Linked DNA regions of Homo sapiens: region 2 is linked to region 1. Evidence: promoter capture Hi-C in 16 types of primary human blood cells and fetal thymus (Javierre and others, 2016). All regions are on one chromosome and are shown on one strand. The core of a region is centred on a gene start or on the middle of the fragment in contact, and the rest is flanking DNA. Distances in the headings are between cores, read along the strand shown. Region 1 holds the start of KIN (Kin17 DNA and RNA binding protein). Region 2 holds the start of UPF2 (UPF2 regulator of nonsense mediated mRNA decay).

The links. Contacts are between HindIII fragments. The CHiCAGO score rates a contact against its expected background, and 5 or more counts as called.
Region 2: the fragment with the promoter of UPF2 here is called in contact with the fragment with the promoter of KIN in region 1 in 1 of 17 cell types (monocytes); the score reaches 5.9 in monocytes.

The regions. Positions count from the first base shown.
Region 1 is chr10:7,786,011-7,789,487 of GRCh38, reverse strand. KIN (Kin17 DNA and RNA binding protein) reads left to right here and starts at 1,495. Exons shown (of 13, transcript NM_012311.4): 1 at 1,495-1,668. The coding sequence starts at 1,555. ATP5F1C (ATP synthase F1 subunit gamma) reads right to left here and starts at 1,311. Exons shown (of 10, transcript NM_001001973.3): 1 at 1,225-1,311. The coding sequence starts at 1,280. RefSeq lists enhancers at 227-770, 1,223-1,542. The HindIII fragment of the contact is 3,793 bases long and covers 329-3,477 here.
Region 2 is chr10:12,041,052-12,044,528 of GRCh38, reverse strand. UPF2 (UPF2 regulator of nonsense mediated mRNA decay) reads left to right here and starts at 1,720. Exons shown (of 22, transcript NM_015542.4): 1 at 1,720-1,774. LOC105376416 (a long non-coding RNA gene) reads left to right here. Exons shown (of 3, transcript XR_930666.2): 3 at 568-730. RefSeq lists enhancers at 1,303-1,552, 2,723-2,812 and silencers at 1,993-2,132, 2,153-2,202. The HindIII fragment of the contact is 3,508 bases long and covers 1-3,347 here.

The DNA.
Region 1 (3,477 bases), core at 246-2,745:
TTTAATTCCCATGAATGTTCTTTTTCCATATTAGAGAAAAAAAAATCTGACTTCCAAGGCCAAGCCACCAAAAATTTTATGTGGCTAATTCACATCAGATATCATTCTGAAAATCTCGTATATTACTATCAGTTATTTGCTTAATGAAAAACCTATTTATTTCAACTAATGCTTTATGGTCCCTTCATATAAATTAGGATACGAAAATCTAGTTTAGCACTGTAGCGCCTTAGAAATCCTCCACACTGTTAAGAGCAGGGAATTGCTACGACACAGCCTAGAATCCCCTTAGCAGCGTGTCTGGAATTCTTCCAGATTCCGTCAAGCTTCAAAACTGAACAGCACCACCCACAAACCAACTTTTACCTGCCCATTCCCGGGCCTTCTAATATGCACTTCCCCCAGCCCAGGTCCCCCTACCCGGAACTAATGTTTAAAATTCTCGAGGCTCGTGGCACCCTTTAGTTGCATGTCAGTTAACAAATGCCACTTAAAAGCCCACCGAACTCCTCCCCCAGGACCTGGGGGCAATTTCATGACCTTGCAGGGTTACGGTTTCAGCAAGTGGTTTCAAGGTAGTGCTAGGTGTCCTTCCCTTCCCCGCCCTCAGACAGATCTGTACGGTCCCTTCTGCACCAAAACCACCCTCAGAGGCATCTAGGATGTTCGCCTTTGCTGTTGCAGCACCCAGCAAAGCGTCTGCAACACGGGAGGTGCTCGACGGCCGCGCTCTCTGACTCGATCGAATCTTAAAGGGTCACTCTGTCCAGCACTACAGGGTTTCAAAGGGCGTCAAGGACAAAAAGCACGACTTAACCTTCCCCTGGGCTATTGCTCAGGCTCCCGTCACCTTGCAGGCCCTGAGACTGGGGGCCTGGCTTGCAGTGGAAGTGGAAGCTCAGGAAGTGCTGATTAGCTGAGGGAACTCAAGACCGCCCAGACGTCAATTTGGACTCAGGCCGCAGTCCCGAGGTCCCAGGTGGCCCTCCGACCTCAGGGAACCGGGCGGGACCTTGCTCCGCCGGAGCCCGGCCCTGCGCACACCTTGCCCGACCTCAGAGCCGCTTCCTGCAGCCCCCGCTACCCGGCGCCTCCGACGGGCCAGGGGCCCAGCTAGGCCCTGCGACCCCACATCTGCCCCCGCGCCCATCTCCTCCTCCCTGCCCCGTGCCCAAGCTCTTCCATCCCTTGCGGTCCTGCCGATCTTCCCGCAAGCTGCCATACCATTGCGGCTGCAAGGTCCAGGCCGACAGCCCAGCGACACCCGCGCGAGAGAACATGGTAGCCACAGCCCTGCTGAAGGTCGGTCAGGCAGGCCTCAGCGCGCATGCGCCGAAGCTCCCCAGCGCGCCCCTCCCACCTTGCTCTCTTCTTCAGTCTCGTTTCTTCGCGCTACGGCGAGGGGAGTCTCGCGACCGTTGCAACCCAGTCTTCCCAGGCCCCACCTCCTTCCGCCTCTCAGCTGGGATTTGTCCCGCCCACCGCCGCCAGCCCGGTTCCGTTTCCGGCTGGCTGAGTACTGGGGTCCAGAAAGTGATCGCTGCCGTGGTCGCCATGGGGAAGTCGGATTTTCTTACTCCCAAGGCTATCGCCAACAGGATCAAGTCCAAGGGGCTGCAGAAGCTACGCTGGTATTGCCAGATGTGCCAGAAGCAGTGCCGGGACGAGGTGAGTGGGCCCGGAGTGGCCCCGTCTTCCCAGGAGGGCCCCTGGCAATCCAGGATCAGGTCCTGGACGCGGGGCTGAGGGCGCGGGGCTGGGGCTCCCGGGGTCCGGGTCGTGAGGCTTCTGAGGTCTGCAGTGGGCGAGTCAACTACTCAGCGCACGAGAGCCGTCCCTCCCCGCAGCCCCCGGGCCCAGCGGGCAGCCTGTGTTCTGCGACCCCTCATTCCTCCCCAGTCCGATCCCCACCACCAAAGAAATGAAATCAGAAAAGGTTTTGCACCCCTCACAGGGGCGGGGATACTGCAATACTAGACGCCCGGGCAATGCCAGTAACAGTCATCAGCTCTTACTTGACTTGACTCTTAAGAGAAACAGGGTGGTTAGGATTCACTCCTCTTTTGGGATCAGGTGAAAAAGGAGAGCTAAGCTCTTCCACACTACTCATCTAGCAAGCATTTATTGAGCACCTACACTGTACCGGGCACAGAATAATATTGTGGTTAAAATTATGGATTTATCTGGTTTATGGATATATCAGACTGTCAAAATTTAAAGTCAAGCAGGGCCACTTACCAACCGTGTGGTCTTGGGCAAGTTATTTACTTATATTCCCCTTTACTTATCTGTAAAGAGGGAATAATAATTTCACCTACTTGTAGGATTGTCGCTGAGTTTTAAATGAGTGAAGTATATATAGAGTGGCTCAAGGAGTCTGGGCAGATCTCGAAAAGCCTTATATGGCTACACTATGGAATTTACACTTTTCCCCATTAAAGAGGTGGTTGATTGAATGCTGTGCAGGCTAGTGATGTGATCATATTTTTCTCCGGAGATTGGACTGGATTGGGTAAGGGTGGAAGAACACTGAGGCAATTGGAATAATCTAATCCAGTGTTTCTGCAAGTGAAGGAAGAGGTATTTTAGGTAGGACTCATACTAATATTGATACAGTTACTCTCTTTAGTTCTATTAAGGAATACCTGTATATGCATTATCTAATGTCTTAGTCTGCTTGGACTGCCATATAAAGTGCAGTAGACTGGGTGGTTTAAATGACAGAAATTTATTTCTCACAGTTCTGGAGGCTGGGAAGTTCAAGATCAAGGTGCTGGCATGGTCAGATTCTAGTGAGGGTCCTCTTCTTGGTTTGCGAAACTGCCTCTATCCTCACAAAGCAGATAGAGCAAGCTCTAATAGAAACTTCTCTTCCTCTTTTTTTTTTTGAGATACGGTCCCACCCTGTTCATCATGCAGGCTCTACCCTTGTGACCTCATCTAAATCCAGTCATCTCCAAAGGCCCACCTTTTAATTCCATTCCCTTGGGGGTTAGGGTTCAATATATGAACTTTGAGGGGACGCAGACATGCAGTCTGTAACACCCAGACTTAACACTTTAAGTAATTTTGCCGTATTTACTTTTTAAAAAATATTTTAAGGTAAATACCAATATCAGGATATTTCACCTTTAAATACTTAAATAGGCATCTCTAAAATTTCAGGATACTTTTCTATATAACCATAGTATATGTCATCAACATAACACAATTAATAGAAGTTCCTCTTTATCATCTAATACACATTCACACTTCCTCAGTTGTCCTCCAACTGCTCCTTGAAATCAAGATTCGATCAAAAGCAATAGACTGTTATAGGTTTGGTTATTAGGACCTCCGCTCCCCTCTCCAGTCTCCCTCATCATCAACATCCTGCAACGAGGTGTTATATTTGTTACCATGGATGAAACTACATTGACACATCAGTATCATCCAGAATCCATAGTTTACATTAGGGTTCACTCTTGGTGTTGTACA
Region 2 (3,477 bases), core at 471-2,970, 4.3 Mb before region 1:
CTGTCGCCCAGGCTGGAGTGCAGTGGCGCAAACTCGGCTCACTGCAAGCTCTGCCTTCCCGGTTCACGCCATTCTCCTGCTTCAGCCTCCGGAGTAGCTGGAACTACAGGCACGTGCCACCACGGCCGGCTAATTTTTTTTGTATTTTTAGTAGAGACGGGGTTTCACCGTGTTAGGCAGGATGGTCTCGAACTCCTGACCTTGTGATCCGCCCGCCTCGGCTTCCCAAAGTGCTGGGATTACAGGCGTGAGCCACCGTGCCCGGCCTTCATCTTTCTCTTTCACTATCCTTTAAATGACTGACCTATGTGTAGTGTATAAAAAATATATATTTTTAAATACAGGAAGCAGCAACACTCAGTATGAGAGGATAATTTGCGTGCTAAGAGTAAATGGGGAAGCAAACAGTAAATAGAGGCAAATGGGCAAAGGTTGAGTCATAGGGAACCTGGACTTGCCTCAAGTATTTGTGGTTGGTAGTAGTTCATTACGTGGGCTTGGGCACCAGGTGGGGCCCCCTCAAGTCAAGCAAACGTCAAGACCAGTTTCGCACCCTTGTTCCTCTAGCTCCGGACCAGCCAGAGCCACCTACTCGGATCATGTTGGCAGAACCCAGTACTGTTTCGAGGCCAGATGCACCATTTCAGCAATTCAGGAGGAAATAAGCAGTGTGGATAAACTGATACCCATTTTTGAAAGTCGGCCTGGGTTCGCATTCAGAAGAAATGTCGACGCTAGCCATTTTTTTTTTAAAATGGGTGATTTGATAACTCAGGGAAGTCTTGCCACTGTAATTTTTAAAAGTTTGCTTGCTAGAACCAGGTACTTTCTAAGAAGTGTATGGAAAAAGCCTTGATTCTTCTTCGCCCTGGGTGGTTTTTACGTCGAACACCTAGAAGTGCTTCTGGAAATCCCCCCGCAGGACTTTCGATGTCTTTTAGGGCATTCTTAAGACTAGACCCATTCCTAAGCGACTCCCACCTCCCAAACCAGCCATATGGTTTAGTTTCTCCAGTTTCCAATTTTCTAAATCTTCAACGTCTCCCCTCGAATTAGTCCAATCAAACTTTCTCTTCTTAGACCTCTTCCTTAGGTTCGCACCAGGAAACGCCCAGGAGAATCACGTGGCCGGGCTTGTCCTTAATGGCGCTCCGTAACCCTCCCACTATTCCACCACACTTCCTCGCCTCCCGTGAGCTCCGCCCCGCCCCATTCGCGCTTCCCACCCCCATCCCCCGCGAAGCGCCTGCGCCTGCGCAGCTCCAATTCAGGCGCTTTCCCTTTCCTGGCGACCAATCCACTTCCTGCCTCGGGTCCTCGGAACACTCCACCCCTCCGCTGGGGCCCTGGTTTGAGGTGCTGGTAGTGGCTACCTTACGTATTGCCAGTCTGAAAAATTCGCTCTTCTCATCGACTGGGGAATTTGAAAGAGCTGTTAAGTGAATGGCACTCATATGAGCCTTTGCCCCGGACCCGCCACCCCAGAGTCAAGCTGAGGGCATCGGCATGCCGCAGGGAAGACGATCAGGACTGTTTTTAATCGGGCAGTCGCGCGGATGGCCTTTTCCCTCTCGCCTCCTTCCGCCCCGCCCCCACTCTCAGCCCGGCCGCGCTGGTGAGTGGCGGGCGGGAGGGCTGGCGGGCGGAGGGAGGAGGGGGAGCTGAGGGAAGGCGGGCCCTCGGCTGCGAGATAGGTGGGGGGAGGGGAGGGGAGAGCCCGAGCGCTGGAGTTGGTGCTGGGAAACCCGGGGCTAATGTTGACAACAGGCTCGAGGTGAGTCCCGGGGATCCTCCTTCCCCTCCGCTCCAACGATCGGGAGGAAATGGGGCTGGGGGGCACCGGCCTAGACTCCTACTCCCTGGGGGACCCCAGAGGCGACTCCACACTCCAGCTCTCCGGGGTCGGCGAGCAGTGGAGGGACCGCGGGTCCGGCGTCGTTCTCCTCAGACCCCCTGTCTCCGAGGCTCCCATCAACGCGGGAGCCCCCGGGCCGGGCCATGCTTGGGGGGCGGTGGAGGAGGTGCCTGCCCCACATGCCTGGGCCGGGCCTCGAGACTGGAGGCGGGGAGCCCGCGGTGGAGGGGCGAAAGTGTTCGGGGGCGTGGAGGAGAGCGAGGGGAGGTCGGGGGAAGCTCCTCGAGAGCCGGGAGGGAAGCGAGGGCGAGAAAGTGGGGAGGGCGCGTGTGTGGGAGGCTGCGGAGTGGGGAGACCGGCCGGGAAGGCTTCTGTGGCGAGGGAGTGTGGGGCGAGAAGTTGGGGTTGGGGCAGCGATGGTCCGCGAAGGTGACCGTGGATACCTGTGGGAAGGGGAGTTGTGTCGGGGAAGTGTGGTGGGTTTAGAGGTTCCTACACCACCAGAGCAGGGGTTTGTAGGAGAGGTATGTGTAGGGGAAGGGGCTTGGGGTGTATCTGGGGATGGTGGGCATGGGCTGTTTGGTTGACTTCCTTTTAATCACATAGGCTGGTTGATTCTTCACTTTACCTTCACCTCTTCAAGGCGCCAAGCACTCTCTTCTTGCTAGGACTGTTGGACTAAGGAAGTGATCACAGGATATTTGGTCCCCAGGTTGGCAGAGCAGAGCCAGCTGGGTCCACGCTGGGGTGATCGGACCTTCAGCTCTCTTGCTCATCTTAGAGGACTTACACGACACGAAACGATGCATCAGATCAAAGTGAAACCCTCGCTGACGCTTTATCTCATTTCCATAGTTCTTAGGTGTTCCTTAACATCGTCAGTCTCCTCATTTGTGAGCTGGTACAATTTCTAACAGTTCTTAATACGTCCTTTATACTAAGGATGTTCTTTAAAAAATAAAGTCAGAAACTGGGAGATAGTGTTCCTGTGCTGTTCTGTCCTGACAGCATTTTGAATAAGAGAATTGAAAGGTAAAACCGCATTCTCTCATACTGGAGTGTTTTCGGAGCACTCTGATTGGGATTTCATACATAATCCATATGGTACTTTGCAAGGGAATGTCTTTAAAAGGGAAACACCCCCTTTTGTGCCCTCTTCCCCCCAATACACTCCATTGGTACTTCTAGTAAATTAGTTTTACTTTCTTTTGGAAGTTCAGAATGTATTTAGAATACCAAATAAAATATACAGTTCAAGTGACAGGACACTATTTTGGGAGCTAGGAAGGTGGTTTTAAAGCATGGTTTCCTTTTAAGGGTAGTCTGAATATAATTGTATTCAGCAAACTAATTTGTAACAGCTAATCGGATTCCAGTGAAAAGATCACGACTTTTTCTCCTCACTATCTTGAGAAAGGACCTATTTAAAATTGTATTTGGACTTGAAAAACTTTTGGAAACACTTTAGATGAAAAGTTTGGCTGTTAAAGCTTGAAGTTATTGAAATAAGAATTTTAGCATTTTATTAAATATCACTTAGTGCTCAGTTTTTTAAGTCGACATAAAACAAACGTGTATTGAGGTGAATCACGGTGTTTGTATATTTTATTCGTTTTAGTGTA